Regions from separate parts of the Homo sapiens genome. Here regions 1, 2 and 4 are each linked to region 3. The links are contacts of gene promoters, found by promoter capture Hi-C in human tissues and cell types (Jung and others, 2019). All regions are on one chromosome and are shown on one strand. Each heading gives the region's core, a stretch centred on a gene start or on the middle of the fragment in contact. The rest is flanking DNA. Distances are from core to core; before and after follow the strand shown. Region 1 holds the start of ELP6 (elongator acetyltransferase complex subunit 6). Region 2 overlaps PTPN23 (protein tyrosine phosphatase non-receptor type 23). Region 3 holds the start of CDC25A (cell division cycle 25A). Region 4 holds the start of CSPG5 (chondroitin sulfate proteoglycan 5).

Evidence for each region. Contacts are between HindIII fragments. The study calls those that stand out against the background at their distance.
Region 1: a contact is called between the fragment with the promoter of ELP6 here and the fragment with the promoter of CDC25A in region 3, in 1 of the 25 tissues and cell types used here (pancreas).
Region 2: a fragment that was not itself captured here is called in contact with the fragment with the promoter of CDC25A in region 3 in 1 of the 25 tissues and cell types used here (heart left ventricle).
Region 4: the fragment with the promoter of CSPG5 here is called in contact with the fragment with the promoter of CDC25A in region 3 in 3 of the 25 tissues and cell types used here (IMR-90 fibroblasts, hippocampus and pancreas).

The regions. Positions count from the first base shown.
Region 1 is chr3:47,512,168-47,515,332 of GRCh38, reverse strand. It overlaps ELP6 (elongator acetyltransferase complex subunit 6), which reads left to right and starts at 1,621. Exons shown (of 7, transcript NM_001031703.3): 1 at 1,621-1,796. The coding sequence starts at 1,743. RefSeq lists enhancers at 1,657-1,766, 2,097-2,206. The HindIII fragment of the contact is 13,702 bases long and covers 1-3,165 here.
Region 2 is chr3:47,390,410-47,393,502 of GRCh38, reverse strand. The region is part of intron 1 of PTPN23 (protein tyrosine phosphatase non-receptor type 23); the gene reads right to left. Among named protein-coding and RNA genes, the nearest start is that of PTPN23-DT, 10 kb to the right of the region's middle. The HindIII fragment of the contact is 5,453 bases long and covers 1-3,093 here.
Region 3 is chr3:48,187,152-48,190,326 of GRCh38, reverse strand. CDC25A (cell division cycle 25A) reads left to right here and starts at 1,910. Exons shown (of 15, transcript NM_001789.3): 1 at 1,910-2,549. The coding sequence starts at 2,380. RefSeq lists a silencer at 2,244-2,453 and an enhancer at 2,197-2,825. The HindIII fragment of the contact is 16,525 bases long and covers 1-3,175 here.
Region 4 is chr3:47,577,354-47,580,126 of GRCh38, reverse strand. It overlaps CSPG5 (chondroitin sulfate proteoglycan 5), which reads left to right and starts at 1,262. Exons shown (of 5, transcript NM_006574.4): 1 at 1,262-1,530; 2 at 2,199-2,773. The coding sequence starts at 1,434. RefSeq lists an enhancer at 1-637 and silencers at 1,762-1,811, 1,852-1,911, 1,962-2,051. The HindIII fragment of the contact is 21,614 bases long and covers 1-2,773 here.

The DNA of each region.
Region 1 (3,165 bases), core at 372-2,871, 670 kb after region 3:
GCTAACGATTACATTCCACATCGATCTTAACCTTGTAGTTTCCACAGAAATGACCCTGGGTCCCCTTTGCAGTCCACGCCAGATTAGGACTCCACACACAGCTGTGCTGTGCTTTGAGCATATCAAACACCGGTTCACTTAAATTTCACCTGAATTCGACTCTTTCCCAAATCATATAACAATTATTTTAGTGACTGTCAATAAACTTGACTTTGGTGGAATTACAGGTTTGTCCACTGATCTGAGGCTGATTGGGCTAGAACAAAACTATATACGGTATAATAGATATAAATGTTATGGAAAAAAATAAAAGCAAGGAAAAAGAAGTGTTGGGAAAGGGACAGTTTGTGATTTAAGTAAGGTGCTCAGGGAAGGCCTCACGAATAAAGTGACATCGGAGCAGAGACCTGAAGGAAGTGGGGAATTTTAAAATCAGCTTAATATCTGGGAAAAGGGGCATTCCAGGAAGAGGGAAGAGTTAGTATAAAGGCTCTGAGGACAGGCATACAGGGCGTGTTGCAACCACACTGTTTTTTAACGAAGTCTCACACTGCTGCCCAGGCTAGAGAGCAATGGCGTGATCTCGGCTTACTGCAACCTCTGCCTCCCAGGTTCAAGCGATTCTACTGGCTCAGCCTCCCGAGTGGCTGGGATGACAGGCGCCCCCCACCACGCCAGGCTAATTTTTTGTATTTTTAATAGAGAAGGGGGTTTCACTATATTGGCCAGGCTAGTCTCGAACTCCTGACCTCGTGATCCCTCCGTCTAGGCCTCCCAAAGTGCTGGCATTACAGGTGTGAGCCACCGCGCCCAGCCGCAACCACACTTTCTTAGTGAGACCCACCCTGACAACCTCTTTAATTCTGGAACCTACCCCTGCCCCCATTGGTACTCTCTAATCCCACTTTGCTTTTCTCCACACAACTTTTCAAGATATAATTCCGTGTCGGCCGGGCGTGGTGGCTCATGCCTGTAATCCCAGCACTTTGGGAGGCCGAGGCCGGCGGATCACGAGGTCGGGAGATCAAGACCATCCTGGCTAACACGGTGAAACCCCGTCTCTACTAAAAATACAAAAAATTAGCCGGGCGTGGTGGCGGGCGCCTGTAGTCCCAGCTACACTCGGGAGGCTGAGGCAGGAGAATGGCGTGAACCCAGGAGGCGGAGACTGTAGTGAGCCGAGATCGCGCCACTGCACTCCAGCCTGGGCGACAGGGCAAGACTCCGTCTCAATTAAATAATAATAATAATAATAATAATAATAATAATAATAATAAATTCCCTGTCCTTTGTTTTTGTTCATCGATGTAGCCCAAGCTCCCAGGAGTGTGGGGCATACAGAAGGCGCTTGACAGCCACGTGTGGAGAAAAGGAGCCCGGGGCTGGGCAGAGAGCGAGGCCAAGGGAAGAAGAATACTCGGTCGCGTGGAGCCTTGGGGGCCCACTGGGAGGGCTCGGGCGCCACGCAGATCTGCGCGGAATGAGCCGCCAGAGGCCGCTGGCAGTCGCACAGAGAAGCCCATCGTTTCCTACCACCTGGGACTCGACGGACGTCTACGCGCGTGCGCAGCGGTCCCATCGAGGCACCCGCCTCATTGGCTGTGGCTGGCTCGCAAAAGTGGCATTGCGCATGCGCGCTTCCTTGCGCGAGCCGGGCTGTCGGGTGTGTTTTGCTCTCCAGCCTCCGTCGTCTCTGCAGCACTCCGGGTTCTCCTCCAGAGCGCTAGTCCCAGGAGCTCGGAATGTTCGTGGAACTTAATAACCTGCTTAACACCACCCCCGACAGGGCGGAGCAGGTAAGAGGTCCCGCTGGCCGGAAGGGGGCGGGACCTGGCAGGGCAGCGGAATACTGCATCCGGGAGGCGGTGCGCACGACCCCGGGGAATGGCGCGACGACCCGGCACGGGGTACCTGGGAGTTGTAGTCCGCAGAGGATCGACCCGGGGATTGGACTGGAGGCTTGGGCCCGCCGAAAGTGGGCTTCTGGGCCATCTCGCATATTCTCAACGGCTGTGCGTGTCCTTAAAAGTCCCTGGGAAGCGGCCGGGCGCGGTGGCTCACCCCTGTAATCCCAGCAGTTTGGGAGGCCGAGGCGGGTGCATCATCTAAGGTCAAGAGTTCGAGACAAGTCTGGCCAAGATGGTGAAACCCCCGTCTCTACGAAAAATACAAAAATTAGCCGGGCGTGGTGGCTCATGCCTGTAATCTCAGCTACTCGGGAGGCTGAGACAGGAGAATTGCTTGAACCCGGGAGGCGGAGGTTGCAGTGACCCGAGATCTCGCCACCGCACTCCAGCCTGGGCGACAGAGCGGGACTCCACCTCAAAAAAAAAAAAAAAAAGTACCTGGGAAGCATGGCCGACAGTGGGGTTGGGTTATATTCGCGGACGTGAACTGTGGCGCGCTGTGCATGTTCACTGGGGTGGGGGGTCCCAGGCGCTCAGAGGAGACTGCAGAATAGGCCCGAGAGGAGAGGGGAGTTCGTTTCGCCGCCGTCTTCATGGGCGAGCTTCCTAACCGCCACCTCGCCCCGGAGCAATTGGCACATTGTATTGAACGCTGCTGTTCTTCTTACTCTTCCTCCTTGTGATCTCTAATAGAACTGTTAGAAGCAGGACAGAGCCAAATTGGCTTGGACCAAGTCCGTCTTGGGCACCCCAGGCTGGCCTGTTCTCTCCACCCTCCTCACACTCCGGGGTACCTTGAAACCTTTCACATTTTAACGTAGGAGTAACCTCTTTCAGGAGTGTATCTTTTGGCTTATTTATTTATTTATTTATTTTTGATGGAGTCTCGCTCCCTCGCCTGGGCTGGAGTGCACTGGCGCGATCTCGGCTCCCTGCAACCTCACCTCCCGGGTTCAAGTGATTCTCCTTATTCAGCCTCCCAAGTAGCTGGGATTGCAGGCGTGCGCTACCACACCGGGCTAATTACTTGGCTGATTTTTTTTTGTATTTTTTGTTAGAGACGGGGTTTCACCATGTTGGCCAGGCTGGTCTGGAACTCCTGACCTCAGGTGATCCGCCCGCCTCTGCCTCCCAAAGTGCTGGGATTACAGGCGTGAGCCACCACGCCCAGCCTGGTTTATTCATAATCTTTGTCTTCCTAATGAAATGGTAAACTCCTCCAGGCAACCAGGATACTAAGTGTCTAAAGCCTTTTTAT
Region 2 (3,093 bases), core at 356-2,855, 800 kb after region 3:
CTATCTGGAGAGAAAACAAATAAGGTGAAATACATCCATCAAAACTAGGTAGCCGGGCACAGTGGCTTATGCCTGTAATCCCAACACTTTGGGAGGCCAAGGCAGGTGGATCACTTGAGGTCAGGAGTTCGAGACCAGCCTGACCAACATGGTGAAACCCCATCTCTACTAAAAACACAAAAATTAGCCAGGCATGGTGGTGGGCACCTGTAATCCCAACTTCTCAGGAGGCTGAGACAGGAGAATCGCTTGAACTCAGGAGGGGGAGGTTGCAGTGAGCTGAGATTACAACACTGCACTCCAGCCTTGGCCACACAGCAAGACTCCATCTTAAAAAAACAAAACAAACAAACAAAACTAGGTAACACACTGGGTGCAGTGGTTCACACCTGTACTTCCAGCACTTTGGGAGGCCGAGGCCAGAGGATCACTTGACCCCAAGAGTTCAAGGCCAGACTGGGCAACATAACAATAAATCCCATCTCTACAAAAATTTAAAAATGAATCAGCCAGGTGCAGCGCACATCTGTAGTCTCAGCTACTCCAGAGGCTGAGGCAGGAGGATCACTTGAGCCTAGCAGTTCAAGTCCAGCCTGGGCAACAAAGAGTAAATCCCATCTCTAAAAACAAAACAAAACAAAAATACTAGATAGTGAGAATTTGGGTGAGCACTGAATTATTCTTCCAATTTTTCTATATGTTTGAAATTTGGAAAACAAATGTCTTAAGAGTTGCTGAAGAGCTAAATGGTACCTGAATACCACTTTCCCCTATCAGTGGTTTTTATTTAGCCTTTTGTGGGTCCTTTGAGAATATGATAAAAGCCATGAATTAAATCCCCCTAGAAATTTTCAACTATGCACAAACATAAGGATTTACCAAGAACTTTAGGGAGCTGACAGGCATTTAACAATCTTCACTCTGATCTATCCAACTCCACCCCCTCTCCACTCCCTCCCTCAAAAATAATTATGACAACAACAACAACAAAAACACAACTACAAAAAGTGGCCTTGGGTTGGGCATGATGGCTCATGACTATAATCCCAGCACTTTGGTAGGCTGGGGTGAGAGGATCACTTGAGGCTAGGAGTTCCAGACCAGCCTGGGCAATATGGCGAGACCCCCATCTCTACGAAAAAAAATTTAAAAATTAGCCAGGAGTGGTGGTGCATGCCTGTGGTCTCAGCTAGTTGGGAGGCTGAGGCAGGACTGCTTAAGCTCAGGAGTTTGAAGCTGCAGTGAGCTATGATGGCACCACCTTACTTCAGCTGGGGTGTCAGAGTGAGACCCTGTCTGTATTAAAAAATAAAAATAGGCCAGGCACAGTGGCTCATGCCTGTAATCCCAGCAGTTTGGGAGGCCAAGGTGGGCCGATCGTTTGAGCCCAGGAGTTCAAGACAAGCCTGGGCAACATGGCAAAACCCCATTTCTACAAAAAGCACAAGAATTAGCCACGTGTGGTGGTGTGCGCCTATACTCTTGGCCAGTTGGGAGGTTGAGGTGAGAGGACTGCTTGACACCAGGAGTTCAAGGTTGCAGTGAACCATGATTGTGCCACTGCACTCCAGCCTGGGTGAGAGTGTGACACTATCTCAAAAATAATTAATTAACTAAAATATTTTTTAAAATGTGGCCTAAGCTATGAGGTAAAACTTGACTATATGAGAGAATGTTCTGTGGTTAACTCCCTTGCAGTAAGAGGTTTTGCCCACCCTTAGGTTAGAGAAAATGAGTAAAAGTGTAGCTCAGAGGTCTCGTGGGATAGAGGCCAAAGGAATCAGATGGACAGGAGACTCCTACATCCTAGAAACAAGGCTTCCCGTGATATCACTAGGAACATCTGACCCTGCTGTTCACACAATGGTGACAGAAAGATGCTGCTCCCACCCCTAGCAAATCATGCCTAGAGGTCACATTCTATCTGAATCTCATCTCCGTCCTCCTATAAGATCAGCAGCAGATGCTTAACTGAGAACCTACCACAGGTCAGGCACTGTGCTGAGTGCCTAGTAATCACTCCATCCTTAGAACAACCCTAAGAGGTAGACACTATTATCATCACCACTTTACAGATGAGGAAATGAGGAAACTGAGGCAAAGAGTTAGGGTATTCACCAAGGTCACGGTGCTAATAACTGATGGGGATATGACTGAAACCCAGGCATTTGGGCTCCAGAGCCCATGTTCTTTCCATATTAGACCATTCCATTTCTATTTAAATTGTTTTTAGTTTATTTTTTATTGTTTTATTTTATTTTCGAGACAAGGTCTTGTTCTGTTGCCCAGGCTGGAGTTACAGTGGTACTGCAACCATAGCTCACTGCAGTCTCAAACTCCTGGGTCCAAGTAATTCTCCTGCCTCAGCCTTCCAAGAAGCCGGAACTACAGGCACATACCACCATACTCAGCTAATTTTCTGTAGAGGTAGTGTCTTGCTATATTGCCCAGGCTGGTCTGGAACTTCTAGCCTCAAGCAATCCTTCTGCCTCAGACTCCCAAAGTGTTGGGATTACAGACATGAGCCATCACGCCCAAACTTTTTTTTATTTTATAGAGATGGGAGTCTCACTATGTTGCCCAGTCTGGTCTTAAACTCCTGGGCTCAAGCAGTTGACCCACATCAGCCTCCCAGAGCATTTCTATTTTTTAAAAATATGGTTCTTACAAACAACTCTGAAAAACAGGCACAGAAAATGAATCCCTGGCCACACAGTGAGTCAGTGGAGCAGCCAGGATATTTATGTTATTATTATTATTTGCAGCCTGTTAGAAGCAAAAGGATGTTTTTAAAACCCTAACAAAATCCTCTGTGACTGCTGATCACTCCTCCACTAAAAAAGAAGAAAGAGGCTGGGTGAAGTTCCTGGAGTAAGGGACAGAGACCTTGTCCCCATTTCGCTATGGTCTGGGACTCTGCAGAACTCGGAACAGTCTAGCGGGAAGTATGAAGCTCCAATGGAGGCTGAGAAGGCAGGCCCAGCAGCAGACGAGGAGAAAGAACCAGAGGCCCTGACAGGACCCCAGTACCTACACAACTAACAGGAAGAAGACCAGAGAACCTCCAAAAACAGCCAGGCTTTGAAGTAGCTG
Region 3 (3,175 bases), core at 661-3,160:
CTAGGTGCCCACCATCCCTCCACAAACCACAGCTATTGTCATGGTAATAATTCCATTATTAGAAGGAGCTTTATGCTCAGCGGACCAGAGCTCCCTGAGAGCAGGGATTGTGGTATTATTTCAAGCACTGAATTTGTTCTAGTAATCCTTAAATAAACATATGTTGAATGAATGAATGCAGTAACAGGAATGTTGAGCCAAGTTTTGTTTTTGTTTTTTGAGACGGAGTCTCGCTCTGTTGCCCAGGCTGGAGTGCAGTGGCTCGGTCTTGGCTCACTGCAAGCTCCGCCTCCCGAGTTCAGCCATTCTTCTGCCTCAGCCTCCCGAGTAGCTGGGACTACAGGCGCCCGCCACCACGCCCGGTAATTTTTTGTATTTTTAGTAGAGCCGGGGTTTCACCATGTTAGCCAGGATGGTCTCGATCTCCTGACCCCGTGATCCGCCCGCCTCGGTCTCCCAAAGTGCTGGGATTACAGGCGTGAGCCACCGCTCCCGGCCTGTTGAGCCAAGTATTAAACCACATAAAACACAGGAGGAGAGGAAAGTATTCAGAGATACGACAGGGAGAACTATTTGAAACAGTGGGACCACAGACCATGTGAACTGTGCAGAGAGGCCTAAATAGCCTGGGGTTTCTGGAGGGAAGGGAGGTTCCTGGGTGGTGGAGCACTGGTGCACAGAAAAGGAGATGAATCCTGAGAGAGAGGTTCCTCACTGTGAAGGGTCTGGTGTTGGGGCCAAAGGTTTGGGGTTTCCACCTGTCCAGCATGGCTTTTCAAACTGTAGGGTTTTTTTTTTTTGAGTGGGGGGCAGGGGGTGTCTCACTTTGTTGCCCAGGCTGGTCTCAAATTCGTGGGCTCAGGCAATCCTCCCACCTCGCCCTCCCAAAGTGCTGGGATGATAGGCGTGAGCCACTAAGCCCAGCAGTAGGTTGCAATTAAATCATGCACTTATGGCCCTCAAAATCCGTCTAGGAGCTGCCACAGGTTCGGCGCTGTAAAAGTAAATATGCCCACTTAGAAAATGGGGATAATTCCTATGTCACAGAGTTGTAAAGATTAAATGAATTAATACAGATTAACACACTGGGAACAGTGTCAAGTGCATAAGCATTATGTAAACTTTAGCTATTATTTGCTATTATTGTGTTTGCTGTTATTTCTCTCTAGGAGCTCCCAGGGGGCTAAGAAGTGGTGGGAAAGAAAGAAATGATTCTAAGAGCATCCAATAAGGGCTAGAATGGAAGTGAGCAAAAAATGCTGAGGCCCACAGCACAGGTTGTACTGCGGGGTTCAAATCCCATGAGGCCAGCAGCACCCAGGGTCTGTGAGCCCTCCAGAGTTGGGCCCTGGTGGTCGAGTCCAGTCCTGGGGGTCATTGCATTCCCTCCCTCATTATAAAATGGGGCCTGGAGGCCCGGGGCGGAAGAAAGGGGTCCACAATACTGCACGGTTAGAGGCCGAGCCAAGGCTGGATCCGGCCAGACCTCCACAGGTCTTCCTTAGCCTCCACATTGCCTCAGAGTGTGGGGCGCCCGGCTGGGGGCGAGGTAGCGGAGGCCCAAAGGGGGCCGAAGCTAACTGGACGGCAGCTCGCGATGGGAACTACGCTTCCCAGCATGCGACGGGGCAAAGGGGCCTTTCAGCCGCGAGCAGCGCCTCGCAGGTTCTGCTGGGAGTTTTCATTGACCTCTGCTCCCCCTCTCATTTTGATCCCCGCTCTTCTGCTCTGGGCTCCGCCCCCTTCTGAGAGCCGATGACCTGGCAGAGTCCCGCGAGCCGCTTTCTTCTTCCCCTCTCATTGGCCCAGCCTAGCTGCCATTCGGTTGAGAGGAGGAGAAGTTGCTTACTGATTGGTGGATTCCGTTTGGCGCCAACTAGGAAAGGGGGGCGGGGCAGCAGCTGGCCCCACTGAGCCGCTATTACCGCGAAAGGCCGGCCTGGCTGCGACAGCCTGGGTAAGAGGTGTAGGTCGGCTTGGTTTTCTGCTACCCGGAGCTGGGCAAGCGGGTGGGAGAACAGCGAAGACAGCGTGAGCCTGGGCCGTTGCCTCGAGGCTCTCGCCCGGCTTCTCTTGCCGACCCGCCACGTTTGTTTGGATTTAATCTTCAGGTTGCCGGCGCCCGCCCGCCCGCTGGCCTCGCGGTGTGAGAGGGAAGCACCCGTGCCTGTGGCTGGTGGCTGGCGCCTGGAGGGTCCGCACACCCGCCCGGCCGCGCCGCTTGCCCGCGGCAGCCGCGTCCCTGAACCGCGGAGTCGTGTTTGTGTTTGACCCGCGGGCGCCGGTGGCGCGCGGCCGAGGCCGGTGTCGGCGGGGCGGGGCGGTCGCGGCGGAGGCAGAGGAAGAGGGAGCGGGAGCTCTGCGAGGCCGGGCGCCGCCATGGAACTGGGCCCGGAGCCCCCGCACCGCCGCCGCCTGCTCTTCGCCTGCAGCCCCCCTCCCGCGTCGCAGCCCGTCGTGAAGGCGCTATTTGGCGCTTCAGCCGCCGGGGGACTGTCGCCTGTCACCAACCTGACCGTCACTATGGACCAGCTGCAGGGTCTGGGCAGGTAAGGAGAGACCGGCGGGCGGTGCTCCGGGCCCCTGGCCTCGGTGTCGGCCTCGGAGAGATCAGGCCAGGAAACGGACCGGGAGAAGGGCGAGACCCGTCCGTCCGGGTTCGCCGCTCGGGGACAGCCGGGCTAGGGCCTGCCATGTGCACCCCCGCCCGGGCGGAATGTTGGGCGGGAGAGGCCGTCGGGACCTTCCAGGGGAAGAGGTGGAGATCCTTGGGCCTAAGCCCGAGCCAGGCCCACCTTCACCCCTTTCGGATTGCTCCGTACTCTCCTTCTATCTCTATCCCTGGAAGCTCTTTGGAATCTACCCCCGCGGGGAAAATCAGGCTCTTCTAGGCACTCACTTTCACCCTTTGCTAAACCATCCTCAGGATCTTCGTTTGCTGTGATCTTTGTTCCTTCTCAACAAAGGACCATGGCATTTTCTTTCCTGGCGTTTATGTAAAATCATCTCAGTCCCTCGCCCTGTGCACATTCCTGATGTCCACTCTGCTGCTTTCCTAAGGCCAGGTCTTTTTACCCAACTTTCAGAAAGCTTCCTGGGCTTTTCCTGATAGCAAAAAATGCATCCCACGGTGTTTCCCGCGGAAGAGCTACTTTCCCTTCAATCTCTGGCATCC
Region 4 (2,773 bases), core at 13-2,512, 610 kb after region 3:
TTTACCAGGCAGGAGAGGTGGAGACGCTAGGCTAGGCAAATAGGCTGCAGCCATAGTTCTGCTGAGAAACAGGTTTTGAACCAAGGCAACTCCATCTGGAGATATGTATCAGAAAGATTAGGAGATAGAATCTCCATCTTGGTCACTTATTTGGTCTTCTAAGACAGCAATGGGACCGTCTCTTAAATACTGGAGTTGTCCTATCTCCTTGGGCTGATACCCTGAACTGTCATTTGGGTGAGTAACACATTAAGGGGTAGACGGTCGGTTTGGGGGAATAAACTAAGTAACTAGGTTGCGGTTCCTCCTGCCGACTAAGCAGACCTCCTGGTGCGTGGTCTTGGGTTGCCCTGTGAGCCCTGAAGCTGTGAATGGGCCCCACAGATCACTCTAAAGCCAAGCATCCATGTGTGCCCGGCTGGGGATCTAGACCCCCCTGGTCTACCCAGGAACCTGAGTTTTGGTGGTCTGAGACACCTGGGGGACGACGTATCCCGGAGAAGGGACCAGGATTAAAGGCCGCTCCCCAGGCTGCCCGGAGACTAGAAGGAAGGCGAGGTAGCCGCAGTCCCAGGGAGGGTCTTACCCCTTGCTCCCGGGATGCGTTATGGCGGGCCTGGCTGTGCGAGATCTAGGCTAGTGGCTTTGGCTGCGAACGGATTAGATCTGATCCGATTAGAGCCTGGGCGGTCGGCTTCGCCCCCTTGCCAGGCTCTGCCAACGCCCGCCCCTCCCTCGTGGAGACCCGGAGACCTCCCTGAGAGCCTTCCCGCCCGGAACACGGGATTGGTGCAGAATCCGAGAGGCTCCATGCGCCCCGGGCCTGGCTTGTTTCCACAGTGGGGGCTCGTGCTTCCGCCCCCTGCGGCTCTTCTGGACCCCGCCCCGACCCTGCGGGTAACTGGGCCCGCGACGTCCCCGCCTCCGTGCTTGCCGCGTGGCGGGTGGGTTCCTCCGGGTCGGGGCCCCGTGCCGCCTGTTCACCTGGGGCGGGACCGTGGCCCCATCCCACAGGTCTCCCGCCCGTGCACCTGCCGCCTAACGCCGCGCGCCGCGCCGTGCGCCTGCCTCGCGCTCCCCGTCCGCCTGCCCCGCACTCCCCGTCCGTGTGTCTCCTAGTCCCCAGCGAGGGGTCTGTCTGTTCCCCTGGCAGGCTGACCAAGGGGCCGGCGTCACCGCTACGTGCGGCGGGGCCGGCGCGGCGGGCGGGGTGAGGGCGGCGCTGAGCGCAGCGGCGGCAGCGGCGGCGCGGGAGGCGGGGAGGCGCGGCGCGCCGGGGACAGCGGCGGACGGCGGCGGCGGCGGCATGCGGCTCCTCGCGCTGCCCATCGTGGGCTGAGGCGGCCGCAGAACCGGCGGGAGGCGCGGCGGCCGGGCGAGCCGAGGGCGCAGCCAGCCGGGCGGACCGCGGACAGCGGTCGGGGCGCCGCGCCATGGGGCGAGCCGGGGGCGGGGGCCCGGGCCGGGGGCCGCCGCCACTGCTGCTGTTTCTGGGGGCCGCGCTGGTCCTGGCCTCTGGGGCCGTGCCGGGTAGGTATGACTGCGCCCGGGACCCCCGCGGCCCTCGTGCCCCACCCAGGGCAGGGGTCCCGCTGGCGGCGGGGACAGGTGGAGCTGTGAGCTGTGGCAAGGGGGCGGGGCACCGCCTGGCCGCGGCCGGGCGGCGGAATGGTCCCAGGAGGTGGTGGGGGTCCGGGAAAGGCCGACCCGCGTGGGGGCCGACCCCGGTTGGGGTAGCCGGGACCCAAGCGCGCGGGCCGCGGTGCGGACTGGGGGCGGGGCCGGGGGCGGGGCCGGGGCGGGGCCGGGGCGGGGCCTGAGGGTGAGACTTCGGGGCGGGACCTGGAGCTGAGGGCGGGAGCCAGTGGACGCGGCTCAGGGTGGGTTCCCGAGGGTGAGACTTATGGGTGGGCCGAGCTGGGGGCCGCCCTGGCCTGGCTCTTCAGACGGCGGGGCAGGTCGGGCGGGGCCGAGCCGCGAGGCGTTGGGCGGGGTGTGATCCTCGTCTTGGGGGCAGACTCCGGGACGGGGCTTAGAGGTACCGGGTGGCTGGGGTCACACTGGGGCGGTGGGGTCTGAGGGTGGCGAGGTCTGGGTTGACCAGGTCTAGGCGAGCGGGCCTGACCGGGGCGGGCCGGGGCTCCAGGGCTCCTCAGCGCGCCGCCCTGACGTCCCGCCCCTTGCCCTCCCGCCCGCAGCGCGTGAGGCGGGCAGCGCGGTTGAGGCCGAAGAGCTGGTGAAGGGCAGCCCGGCGTGGGAGCCGCCTGCCAACGACACGCGGGAAGAAGCCGGCCCACCAGCGGCTGGGGAAGATGAGGCGTCGTGGACGGCGCCCGGTGGCGAGCTGGCCGGGCCAGAAGAGGTGCTGCAGGAGTCGGCTGCGGTGACCGGCACCGCCTGGCTGGAAGCTGACAGCCCAGGCCTGGGAGGAGTGACCGCAGAGGCGGGCAGCGGCGATGCCCAGGCCCTTCCAGCTACGCTCCAGGCTCCCCACGAGGTCCTCGGGCAGTCAATCATGCCCCCTGCCATTCCTGAGGCTACAGAGGCCAGCGGGCCACCCTCCCCCACCCCCGGCGACAAGCTGAGCCCAGCTTCTGAACTCCCCAAGGAGAGCCCCTTGGAGGTTTGGCTGAACCTGGGGGGCAGCACACCCGACCCTCAAGGGCCAGAGCTGACTTACCCATTTCAGGGCACCCTGGAGCCCCAACCGGCATCAGATATCATTGACATCGACTACTTCGAAGGACTGGATGGTGAGGGTCGTGGCGCAGAT